2 separate regions of the Homo sapiens genome follow, and region 2 is linked to region 1. The links are contacts of gene promoters, found by promoter capture Hi-C in blood cells and fetal thymus (Javierre and others, 2016). All regions are on one chromosome and are shown on one strand. Each heading gives the region's core, a stretch centred on a gene start or on the middle of the fragment in contact. The rest is flanking DNA. Distances are from core to core; before and after follow the strand shown.

Region 1 (6,421 bases), core at 2,527-5,026:
GTTGGGGTCCTCTGTGCTGGTGACATTTAGAATGGAAAGCAAGTGCTATTTTGAAGATGACTCAGTCTGAGGAGGCGCTAGTTTTCTCAAGCAAACACTTTTGTAACACCCTTCCAGCCAAAACTCTGAGCTAACGTAGAAGGGTGAGTCCTGTCTTTCTCTTTGCTATCCACTTTGCATGTGGCCCAGCAGGGATGGTGACATTGCTGAGGGTGGACAATCTATACCTGTCCTCTTCTCTCCCAAACTCCAAAAATGTAAGCGCCCTAAGGGCAAGAGGTCTTTATTTATTTTGAGACAGGGTCTGTCTGTCACTCAGGGTGGAGTGCAGTGGTCGGCTCACTGCAGCCTGGAACTCCTAGGCTCAAGCGATCCTCCCTCCTCTGCCTCCTGAGTAGCTGGGAACACAAGCGAGGGCCACCGCCACGCCTGGCTAATTAAAAAAAAAAAATTTTGTAGAGACAGAGTCTCGCTCTGTTGCCGAGGCTGGTCTGTAACTCCTGGGCTCAAGCGATCCTCCCACCTCAGCCTCCCAGTGTTTGGATCACAGCCGTGAGCCACTGGACCAAAAAAAAAAGAAACCTAATATACAAAACAATGGCAGGGTGCGGTGGCCCTAGCACTTTGGGAGGCTGAGGCAGGCGGATTGCAGGCAGGAGTTTGAGGCCAGCCTGAGCAACATCTTTTTCTTTTCTTTCTTTATTTTATTTTATTTATTTTTTGAGATGGAGTCTCTGTCTGTTGCCCAGGCTGGAGTGCACTGGCACAATCTTGGCTCACTGCAACCTCTGCCTCCTGGGTTCAAGCGATTCTCCCGCCTCAGCCTCCTGAATAGCTAGGACTACAGGCAGATGCCACCACGCCCAGCTAATTTTTGTATTTTTAGTAGAGATGTGGTTTCACTATATTGGCCAGGCTGGTCTCGAACTCCTGCCTTGACCTCCCAAAGTGCTGGGATTACAGGAGCGAGCCACTGCGCACGGCCTCTTTTTTTTCCTTCTGAGACACAGTCTTGTTCTGTTGCCCAGGCTGGAGTGCAGTGGCACGATCTTGGCTGACTGAGTAGCTGGGATTACAGGCGGATGCCACCGTGCCCAGCTAACTTTTGTATTTTTAGTAGAGACGGTGTTTTACCATGTTGGCCAGGCTGGTCTTGAACGCCTGACCTCAAGTTGTCCGCCTGCCTCGGTGTCAGAGTTGCATGAACCAGAGCAACTCTATCTTGAATAGAAGCTGGGTAAAATGAGGCCGAGACCTACTAGGCTGCATTCCCAGACGGTTAAGACATTCTAAGTCACAAGATAAGATAGGTCGGTACAAGATACAGGTCATAAAGACCTTGCTGATAAAACAGGTTGCAGTAAGAAAGCCAACTAAAACCCACCAAAACCAAGACGGCCACCAGAGTGACCTCTGGTTGTCCTCACTGCTGCACTCCTACCAGTGCCATGGCAACGGCAGGAAGTTACCGAATATGGTCTAAAAAGGGGAGGCATGAATAATCCGCCCCTTGCTTAGCAGATCATCAAGAAATAACCAGAAAAATGGGCAACCAGCATTGAGTTCCTTTACTTTCCTAACAAACTTGCTTTCACTTTATGGCCTCGCCCTCAATTCTTTTTTTTTTTTTTTGAGACGGAGTCTTGTTCTGTTCCCAGGCTGGAGTGCAGTGGCCTGATCTTGGCTCACTGCAACCTCCGCCTCCTGGGTTCAAGCAATTCTCCAGCCTCAGCCTCCCGAGTAGCTGGGATTACAGGCGCGCACCACCACGCCTGCCTAATTTTTGTATTTTTAGTAGAGATGGGGTTTCATCATGTTGGTCAGGCTGGTCTCGAACTCCTGACCTCAGGTTATCCACCTGCCTGGCCTCCCAAAGTGCTGGACTCGCCCTGAATTCTTTATTGCACGAGATCCAAGAACCCTCTCTTGGGGTCTGGATGGGGACCCCTTTCCTGTAACACTGGGATTATAGGCGTAAGCCACCATGTTCAGCCACCTTTGAGGCAGGAAAATAGGGTCTGGAGGCAGGGAACATATAAGGCTGATTCACACTTCAGTTATGACAGGAAATATCCTCTCCTTAGGGAGTACACCCTAAATGACTTTGTAACTTTACTTCATCCTCTTCATTTACATATGGCATATCCCAAATAACCAATGGAATCCTCCAAAGGGTATTTAAACTCCAACAAATTCTGTAACTGGGCCCTTGAGCACCTATGCTCAGCCGGCCCCAACACTGGAGTGTACTTTCATTTTCAATAAATCGTTCATTCCTTCCTTGCTTTGTGCATTTTGTCCAATTCTTTTTTTTTTTCTTTTTCTTTGAGACAGAGTCTTGCTCTGTCTGGAGTGCAGTGGCGCAATCTCGGCTCACTGCAAGCTCTGCCTCCCGGGTTCACGCCACTCTCCTGCCTCTGCCTCCCGAGTAGCTGGGACTACAGGCGCCTGCCACCACGCCCAGCTAATTTTTTGTATTTATTTTTAGTAGAGACAGGGTTTCACCGTGTTGGCCAGGATGGTCTCAATCTCCTGACCTCGTGATCCGCCCGCCTCGGCCTCCCAAAGTGCTGGGATTATAGGCGTGAGCCACCGCGCCCAGCCGTTTTGTCCCATTATTTTAGATGCCAAGAACCTGTACACCCTCCACCGGTGACACCTTCACAGTTTTGAGGAGTATTCATGGGGTATTTTGTAAAATGTTTCTCAATTGGGATTTGTCTGATGTTTTTCTCATGATTAGACTGGAGGCAGCTGGGATTACAGGTGTGAGCCACCATGCCCAGTCTCCAAACCCTGTTTACACAAAAATTTTAAAAAACTAGCCAGGCTTGGTGGTGCGCGCCTGTAGTCCCAGCTACTAGAGAGCCTGAGGTGGATCACTTGATCCCGGGAGGGGGAGGCTGCAGTGAGCGGAGATTGTGCCTCGCTGGCTGCACTCCAGCCCGGGCGAGAGAGCCAGACCTTGTCTCAAAAAAAAAAAAAAAAAAAAAAAAAGCCTAATATGGCTGAGGGCGGTGGCTCACGCCTGTAATCCCAGTACTTTGTGAGGCCGAGGCGGGCGGATCACGAGGTCAAGAGCTCTAGACCATCCTGGCCAACATGGTGAAACCCCGCCCGTACTAAAAATACAAAAATTAGTTGGGTACTCGGGAGGCTGAGGCAGGAGAATCGCTTGAACCCGGGAGGCGGGGGTTACAGGGAGCTGAGATCGCGCCACTGCACTCCAGCCTGGCGACAGAGCGAGACTCCGTCTCAAAAATAAATATATACAAATTAAAAAAGCCTAATATACAAAATAAAGCTAGGAATCTTCCCTGAGTCCTCTTGCCTACGGAATGAAGTCCACAGACTTGGGGGAGCGTTCGAACCCTTCTAAGGCCACTTCCTTTCTCCAGCCTCTCGCGCCCAGTTGACTCCCGGCAACACCTCCCGCCGCCACAAGGAGACGCCCGAGGACTTCCCTCCGACAAAGCCAAAAACGGTATTGCCACGTGACCCGCTCCGCATACACGTGACCAGCTTCGCACCCGGTGGGCGTCACGTGACGGACTCAGTAGACCGCCACTGGCTGTGCACGTTATGGGGTTTCCACCTAGGGCTCGGCCTGAGGCTTGTAACACTCCGTTTTCCCCCGAGTCACAGGGGCAGTCTTGCCCCTCGCAGCTGGGTCGCGGTGTCTCTCAAAGGTCCCCCTCTACAGGGGCTTCGTGAGGCCCGGGCCCACAGGGCGCTCGGTCCCGGAAGTGACGTCTCCCAGAGGGGCCGGAAGTGGCAGTGGAGGGAGGGAAGATGGCGGAGGTGGTGAGTCCGGTGCCCGGGGCGGGGCGGAGGGAGCCAGGGGAGGTGGGTAGAGCCCGAGGCCCCCCAGTAGCCGACCCTGGCGTCGCGCTGTCTCCCCAGGGGGAGATAATCGAGGGCTGCCGCCTACCCGTGCTGCGGCGGAACCAGGACAACGAAGATGAGTGGCGTGAGTGACGTTGGGGGGCGGGACTAAGGAACCTGAGGGCGAGGGGCGGGAGTCAACTGAAATCCCGGGATGGGGAGGGGCGTCTGGAATTATGGGGCGGGCGAGGCGCAGATACTTTGATGAAGGGGCGTGGCTCTTAGCTGCTCCGAGAGGTACAGGGCGGGGCCTGGAAAGGGGTGGCACTTGTGACTGAAGGAGGCTTAGGAGAGACCTAAGTGCTGGAGCTTAGGGATCCGGCCTGGGGGTGGAGTTCAGGTCGTGGAAGGGTGGAGTCTCATAGCCTGGCCTGTCTAAGGCCCCTGTCTATGCTATTCTCATAGCCCTGGCCGAGATCCTGAGCGTGAAGGACATCAGTGGCCGGAAGCTTTTCTACGTCCATTACATTGACTGTGAGTTCTGGGCCTGAGGTGGGGCATCAGGGTAGGGTTGGGGGACAGTCTTTGGCATTCTGTCCTGAGCCATCCCCACTGCTACAGTCAACAAACGTCTGGATGAATGGGTGACGCATGAGCGGCTGGACCTAAAGAAGATCCAGTTCCCCAAGAAAGAGGCCAAGACCCCCACTAAGAACGGACTTCCTGGGTCCCGTCCTGGCTCTCCAGAGAGAGAGGTGGTGAGTAGGTCCCCCACTTCACCTTTTCTCTCCTGCCTCCTATTTCTCTTGTCTGTTGGCATTAGGAGCTCCTGGATGGGCAGGAGGCGGCTCCCTCTCACCCTGACTTCATCTTGCAAAGGATGGGGGCCAAATTGCACATGTAGCTCCCAGAGTCCAGTAGCTAGTCCTGTGTCCTTCAGAAGGCGAGGGTGGGGTTTGATAATTTTGAGGTGAGGGACCCCTCTTCCCCTTCCCCATCCCACTGCCATCCCCGCCCCAAAGGAAGACCCTGGACCTATCTCTACAGCCGGCCTCGGCGCAGGCCAGCGGGAAGACCTTGCCAATCCCGGTCCAGATCACACTCCGCTTCAACCTGCCCAAGGAGCGGGAGGCCATTCCCGGTGGCGAGCCTGACCAGCCGCTCTCCTCCAGCTCCTGCCTGCAGCCCAACCACCGCTCAACGGTACCCTCAGCAATTCCAGGGACCTTGCTTTCTTCTCAGGTCCCACCTTCTCTACCTTCTGACCCACCTTTGTTGGTTTCTCTCTGCAGAAACGGAAGGTGGAGGTGGTTTCACCAGCAACTCCAGTGCCCAGCGAGACAGCCCCGGCCTCGGTTTTTCCCCAGGTGAGTTCCCCAAACCATCTCTTGTTCTCTTCCTCTCTTCTACTCTCTGGTGGCTTTTTTCAGGCTCATTTCACAGCCATCCCTTCTTTTCCTACTATCTCGGCAGAATGGAGCCGCCCGTAGGGCAGTGGCAGCCCAGCCAGGACGGAAGCGAAAATCGAATTGTTTGGGCACTGATGAGGTGGGTCTGGGGAGCAGCAGAAGGGAACTGGGTGAAAAGGAAGGGATGCAGGCAGGGTGGAGAGTTATTTAGTGATGAGTTTAAAAATAAAGAAGGGGTGGTGGGCAGAGCTAGTGTTGGTGGGATTAGGAGACAGGCAGAACATTGTTCAAATGAGTCATTGGGGCCGGGCACCATGGCTCATACCTGTAATCCCAGCACTTTGGGAGTCCAACCAAGGCTGGTGGATCACCTGAGGTCAGGAGTTTGAGACCAGCCTGGCCAACATGGTGAAACCTTGTTTCTACTAGAAATACAAAAATTAGCCAGGCGTGGTGGCGGGTGCCTGTAATCCAGCTCGGAAAGCTGAGGCAGGAGAACTGCTTGAACCCCGGAGGTGGAGATTGCAGTGAGCCAAGATCGCGCTACTGCCCTCCAGCCTGGGCGACAGACTGAGACTCCATCTAAAAAATGGGGTCATTGGGTGATCTTTTCCACATCATCGATCCTTTAGGGTTTCAGGTTTTTTATCTGGAAATTGGGGATCATGGTACCTCCCCCTTAGGGTTGCTGTTAGGCTTGAAGGAAACCTGTCAAAGGGCTGTGAGCTGTGGTGTCCTGCTGAGCTGTCTCTTACAACCTGGTATTTTCCACTGGCCCTGGGCAGGACTCCCAGGACAGCTCTGATGGAATACCGTCAGCACCACGCATGACTGGCAGCCTGGTGTCTGATCGAAGCCACGACGACATCGTCACCCGGATGAAGAACATTGAGTGCATTGAGCTGGGCCGGCACCGCCTCAAGCCGTGGTACTTCTCCCCGTACCCACAGGAACTCACCACATTGCCTGTCCTCTACCTGTGCGAGTTCTGCCTCAAGTACGGCCGTAGTCTCAAGTGTCTTCAGCGTCATTTGGTATGAGGGGTCCAGGGAGGCTGCCTTCCCAGCACCCTCCACGTTGCCCTTGTTCCTGATCCTCCTCTCTTCCCCAGACCAAGTGTGACCTACGACATCCTCCAGGCAATGAGATTTACCGCAAGGGCACCATCTCCTTCTTTGAGATTGATG
Region 2 (6,421 bases), core at 1,431-3,930, 420 kb after region 1:
TTGAGATGGAGTTTTACTCTCTTGCCCAGGCTAGAGTGCAGTGGTGGGATCTCTGCTCACTGCAACCTCCGCCTCCCAGGTTCAAGCAATTCTCATGCCTTAGTCTGCTGATTAGCTGGGATTACAGGCACATGCCACCACGCCCAGCTAATTTTGTATTTTTAGTAGAGACGGAGTTTCACCATGTTGGCCAGGCTGGTCTCGAACTCGTGACCTCAAGTGATCTCCCTGCCTTGGCCTCCCAAAGTGCTGGGATTACAGAAGTGAGCCATGGCACCTGGCTTTTTTCCTAAATATTTTTGATCCATGGATATGGAACCTGTGGGTACAGAGGGCCGACTGTAAATGGTGCTGCCTTCCACCCTGTTGCTCAAGCCAAAAACCCCGGAGTCATCTTTGCTTCTTTTTCATGCTCTGTGTGTGCAATCTATCAGCAAGTTCTATACATTCTGACTCCAGAAAATTTCTGGAATCTGTCCTGGGCACTTTATGGCCTCCTGCTGCTACTCTAACCCGTGTCACCTGTCTTCGTATAGCCATTATTACTCTGCTTTGCAGAGTTTATTTGTTGCATTTATTCATTAAAGACTCTCACCTCAGCTTTATAGCTAGTTTTGCAAGATAGAGCACTAGGTCTGGCTAGCCATATGCTGCCAGATGGAGGAGCTGAGTTTTTTTCCTATGTTCTGCTCCTTGGCTTCACTAGTGGCTGCTGGAGGCATCACTGTGCACAGATGCTTGGGGCAAAGGATCTTGCCAACCTCGATGCAGGTCACTGGAACAGCTGATAATGTCCGTGGTTTATAACCTGATGTAGATCCAGAGATGTCATTGAAAGATTTTTGCCTGCCAGCAGGTCTGAGTCTGAAGACCATGCCCAGGCTGGGGTGGCGCTATCATAGCTCACTGCAGCCTCCGATTCCTGTGTTCAAGCTGTCCTCCAGGGTAGCAGGAACTATAGGCACACACCACTACACCCAGCTAACTTTTCAATTTTTTTGTAGAGATGGAGTTCCACATCTGTCGGTCAGACTGGTCTGAAACTTCTGGCCTCAAGCGATCCTCCTATCTCAACCCCCCAAAGTGCTGGGATTACAGGTGTGAGCCACTGCGCCCAGCCAGACTTTTTTGTTAAATGTACCTTAAAGCAATGCTTTCTTCTTTTTTTTCCCATCACAAATTTAATTATTTATAAAAATATCTAATGGAAAGAAACTGGATTAGCAAGCCAGACAGATACTTGTCCTGGCTAAGTGTGATACTGGGCAAGTTGTTGACTTCCTTCTTCAGATGCCTGTGATATATACCCCATGTTTATTCTAATTTCTTAAAGATATGAGAACCTAGCTCTAACATAAGCATGAAATGCCTATTCCTGAGGCATTGATCACATTGTCATTGTTCCAGGTTCCTCTCTGTGCTCCCTGAAATCCCCATTAGCGTAATTCCCCACCATCCCCTTGTGCGGAGTCCACTGCCCCACTGTGCTGCTGCCCTCGACTGTTGTGAGGCCGGCTGAGTTTCAGTAACAGGGACTCGGTGATTAAATTTCTTTTTCTTTTTCTTTTTCTTTTTTTTTTTTTTTTTTTTTTTTTGAGACGGAGTCTCGCTCTGTCCCCCAAGCTGGAGTGCAGTGGAGCAATCTCGCTCGGCTCACTGCAACCTCTGCCTCCCAGGTTCAAGTGATTCTTGTGCCTCAGCCTCCCTAGTAGCTGGGACCTACAGGTGCCTGCCACTACACCTGGCTAGGTGATGAAATTTCTTCAGCTTTCTCTGGCCCTCCCTACTTCTAGGATCCAAATGACACGCTACGTATCGTTGCCATTTCTGATTTGGATGTACAAATATAGGGACAGATGGGTTTGTGTTTGTTTTTGATGTATTTTTTTTTCTCTCTTAATCTGGCTGTAAAAGCATTTCCAATGGCTTATAGTTTAGTATGTGTTCCCAAAGTGGGAGCAGCCTGTACATATGGAAGTCCAGTTGGGTAGGGCTCCCTGTACCCTGGCGCCAGGGCGTTGTTCTGACCGATGGTGCCCCCTGATGGCCAGTGTAGAAACTTGGTCACGGTGTCATCTTTTTCTCACTATCACTGGGGATTCCCTTCACTCCCCAGCAATTACTCACTTTTATTCTGTCTTGAATCTTAGATAATTATGCCGGAGATAATCCTTCTTATCTCCTCTTTGGGTTTCTTGTTTCTTCCTTATTTATTGCTCTCTTACCTCAAAAATATCTTATTTCAGCCAAGTGCAGTGGCTCACGCCTGTAATCCCAGCATTTTGGGAGGCTGAGGTAGGTGGATCACCTGAGGTCAGGAGTTCGAGACCAGCCTGGCCATCATGGTGAAACCCTGTCTCTACTAAAAATACAAAAATTAGCCAGGTGTGGTGCTACTCCAGCTACTTGGGAGTCTGAGGCAGGAGGATGGCTTGAACCCGGGATGTGGAGGTTGCAGTGAGCTGAGGTCACATCGCTGCACTCCAGCCTGGGCAATAGAGATAGACTCCATCTCAAAAAAAAAAATCTTATTTCTTCTCACCACTCATTCTTTTCATTATATTTTGAACTAAAAGCTTGTCCTGGTAATGGCTAAAGAGTACTTAGTGGTGTGTCCATATCAAAAAGAAAGGAAGCCCTTGATTTTGAAGAGAAATTAGAAGCCACGCTAAGGACTCATGGTTGCCATCTTCACGAGCTCTGAGATAGGTAAGGCACGCCCTTCAGAATCTTTATGGGTTTTTGTTAGCTCCTCAGCTTTCTCCAACTAAAATTGCTTTGGCTTAAGCTTTAGAACTCAAGATAAATGAAAGTTCTTCATTTTAACTTTAGTTGATAAATTACTAGTATTACAGAGCGATTTTCTGTGTGGAAAACATGCCAGCACTGTCACCCAGACACACTGTGCACAGGTTCAGCATGTACCATGGCTGCCTGAGGCCTGCCCTCATCCCTGCTGGCCTCCTCTCCTGCGCTTTTTTTTTTTTTTTGAGACAGAGCCTTGCTCTGTCACCCAGGCTAGAGTGCAGTGGTGCAATCTCAACTCAGTGCAACCTCCACCTCCTGGGTTCAAGCAATTCTTCTGTCTCAGCCTCCCGAGTAGCTGGGATTACAGGTGCCTACCACCATGCCTGGCTAATTTTTGTATTTTTAGTAGAGACGGGGTTTCACCATGTTGGCCAGGCTGGTCTCGAACTCCTGACCTCAAGTGATCCACCCCACTTGGCCTCCCAAAGTGCTGGGATTACAGGCGTGAGCCACTACACCCAGCCTCCTGCGCTCCTCTTAACGTGGTTTCAGATTCTGCCCACGTGCCTTCCAGACTAGCTTCTGAAACACTGTCCACCTGTCAGTTGAATTATTGAGCTACTGATTTGTCTGTGACTTTTAGCTCATAATTGGACTGTCGTAAATGACGTAGATACGTAAGTACGTCCTACGGGTTATGTGGCTATGCTGCTGAGACCTCACACTCAACCCTCCAGCACTAATTCACTCTCTTTCAAAATTGTGCTGTTGCTTTCAGTGTTTGGGGAGCCCAGGAGAGGAATGTGAAACAGGACTGCCCAATCCCGCTAACACACACACACACACACACACACGCCAAGAATGTGAAACAGGACTGCCCAATCCCACTGTCACACACACACACACACACACACACACACACCAAAAACCAAAACAAACCAAAATATTCCTGAGTGCAGGAGTTATGATTTAACAAAACCTTCATATCCTCTAACATCCCCACTCCAGAGAACACCCTACTTAGAATAAAAAGCTAGGAGTGATGAGCACCATGGCTTTCAGTCTTTATGGAGCTGTGATAGCCCATCATTATTTGATTTATTCTCCTATCTTTTCCAGAGCGGATGTAGTCTTTGAATAGAATTGCATAATTTTAGGGTTTTAAGCACCCTCAGTAATCGTGCAGTTTAGTTTCCCATCTCATGCCTTCCAAAAAACTTCATACAAGTTGACCCTCATCTAGCCTTGGCCCGAGTGCTTCCACTGAACAAGAATTCAGCAGTTTTTTAAGCAGGCCCATTCCATTGTATGGACTGCCCGAATTATTAATAAGTTCTCTATGTTCGGCTAAAACTTAACTCATGGGAATTTCCACCCTAAGTCCTGATTTAACCATTTGTAGAAATGAATGACTCAGTTTTTTCACTCCCACAGAAGTGGTCTTCAGCTATTGGAGGACAGTGCCCGGCCTCCGTAGGCTCTCCAGCCTCAGCATTGCCCACTTTTCTCTTGGCTTGTTGGGCTTTTTTCTTCTTGATTTTTGGGGATTTTTGAAAATAGCCCTATGTCTTGGATATGAGTCACAAATTGCCCCCCCCCCCACCATTTCGTCATTTGTCTCCAAGCTCTGTTTACATTGGTGTTTGCCGTGCAGAAGTTTTTCTTTAATGTAATAAAATGTAGCCATCTTTTTTAAAATGACCTCTGGACTTCATGTGTTTGGAGTTTATTCATACTTAGAAAGGCCTTGTCCACTTGAGGCTGTTTAAAAAATACCCATATTTTCTGCTAGTACTTAAATGGATTTGTGTGAGTGTGTGTGTTTGTGTTTGTGTGTGTGTGTGTGTACTTAAATCTTTTATGCATCTAGAATTTATTTTAAGATAAGATGTGAGGTAGGGGTTCAAATTAATTTTTTTCCAGCTAGCTGTCTAGTTACTCCAACATTATTGAATTACTCATTTTTTCCTGTTTTGAAATGCCATTATATTAAATTCATGACACACTTTTGGATTTATTCCTAGAGTGTTTCATATGTTTTATTTCCAAGCAAACCACCACACACATCTTATACCTTCATTACTGAAATTTTTAACCTAAATGTAAAACTTGTTATGTGCTTACCTGGCATCCAGCCGGTCAGGATGGTCTGACTCTGCTCCTTCCTGCCTCAGCAGCCTCCTCTTTTGTGCCACCTGCAGGTTAATAAGCATCTCTTATGTCATTATCCAGGCCATTGACCAAGGGGTGACAATAATATTGGCCATTGTAGGGCTGTCCTTTGGACTCCAGTGGAGAGCCATTACTCACTGTTTCCTATTTTAGAAATGCAGCATGATAGGTTAAAAAGTGCTTAGGGTTTTGGTTTCAGTTGCAGAACTAAATTTGAGCATCCCTTCTATTCATTGTTTCTCAGACTTTAATGTGAACAGGAATAACCTGAGAATCTTGTTAAAATGCAAATTCTTTTTTTATTTTTAGTAGAGACGGGGTTTCACCATGTTGGCCAGGCTGGTCTTGAACTCCTGACCTCAGGTGATCCACCTGCCTTGGGCTTCTAGAATGCTGGTATTACAGACATGAGCCACAGCACCCAGCATAAAATGCAAATTCTGATTCAGTAGGTCTGGGGTAGGCCAAGATTTTGCCCCGTTTATTTATTTATTTATTTATTTATTGGACAGTATCACACTCTGTCACTCAGGCTAGAGTGCAGTGGCCTGATCATGGCTCACTGCAGCCTCAAACTCATGGACTGAAGTGATGCTCCTGCCTCAGCCTTCTTAGTAGATAGGACTGTAGACTTCTGCCACCATGCCCAGGTAATTAAAAAAAATTTTTTTACAGAGATGGGAGTCTTGCCATATTACCTGGGCTGGTATTGAAATCCTGTCCCCAAGCAACCACCCAAAGTGGGATTACAGGGTGAGCTATGGTGCCCAGACGGCTTTTGCATTTTTAATAAGTCCCCAGGCCATGCTGATGCTGATGGTCCATGGACTACCCTATACTTTGCAGGACCAAGACTAGAGTGAGTCAAGTGACATGCCCCACGAAGTGTGTGAGGAGGCACTTACTGTCTTGGCACTTGCACAAACCTGAGAGCAAGCACTTCTTTAAGTTTTGTACCCTGGGTCCCTTGCTTGCCTCACCCTAATCCCAGCCCTGATATTGTGTTTCTTATTATTGTTAGGCTTACTGCTGATGAAGCTACTAAATAGGACTCTTGAGAGGTGAGCTCTTGCTGTCTGCACTTTTTTTTTTTTTCGAGACAAAGTCTTGCTCTGTCGCCCAAGCTGGAGTGCAGTGGCGCGATCTTGGCTCACTGCAACCTCCGCCTCCCGGGTTCAAGTGATTCTCCTGCCTCAGCCTCCCGAGTAGCTGGGACTACAGACATGCGCCACCACGCCCAGCTAATTTTTGTATTTTTAGTAGAGACAGGGTTTCACCATGTTGGCCAGGATGGTCTCGATATCTTGACCTCATGATCCGCCCGCCTCAGCCTCCCAAAGTGCTGGGATTACAGGTGTGAGCCACTGTGCCTGGCCGCTGTCTGTATTTTTAAACAGGTTCCCCAGGCGACCCTTAGGCACACCAAAGTTTGAGAACCACTGAAAAAGAGAAGTTCTGACTTTTAGGATTAATTTACAGCCTGTTATGAAACCAGTGCTTG

Evidence for each region. Contacts are between HindIII fragments. The CHiCAGO score rates a contact against its expected background, and 5 or more counts as called.
Region 2: a contact is called between a fragment that was not itself captured here and the fragment with the promoter of KAT5 in region 1, in 1 of 17 cell types (activated CD4 T cells). The highest score is 5.4, in activated CD4 T cells.

Annotation. Positions count from the first base shown.
Region 1 is chr11:65,708,476-65,714,896 of GRCh38, forward strand. KAT5 (lysine acetyltransferase 5) reads left to right here and starts at 3,777. Exons shown (of 13, transcript NM_182710.3): 1 at 3,777-3,970; 2 at 4,291-4,359; 3 at 4,447-4,583; 4 at 4,873-5,028; 5 at 5,118-5,192; 6 at 5,299-5,373; 7 at 6,020-6,268; 8 at 6,346-6,421. The coding sequence starts at 3,793. RefSeq lists enhancers at 3,333-3,452, 3,483-3,792 and silencers at 3,823-4,012, 4,023-4,102. The HindIII fragment of the contact is 6,423 bases long and covers 1-4,332 here.
Region 2 is chr11:66,132,685-66,139,105 of GRCh38, forward strand. The region is part of intron 1 of PACS1 (phosphofurin acidic cluster sorting protein 1); the gene reads left to right. Among named protein-coding and RNA genes, the nearest start is that of PACS1, 66 kb to the left of the region's middle. RefSeq lists silencers at 3,172-3,221, 6,226-6,385. The HindIII fragment of the contact is 212 bases long and covers 2,575-2,786 here.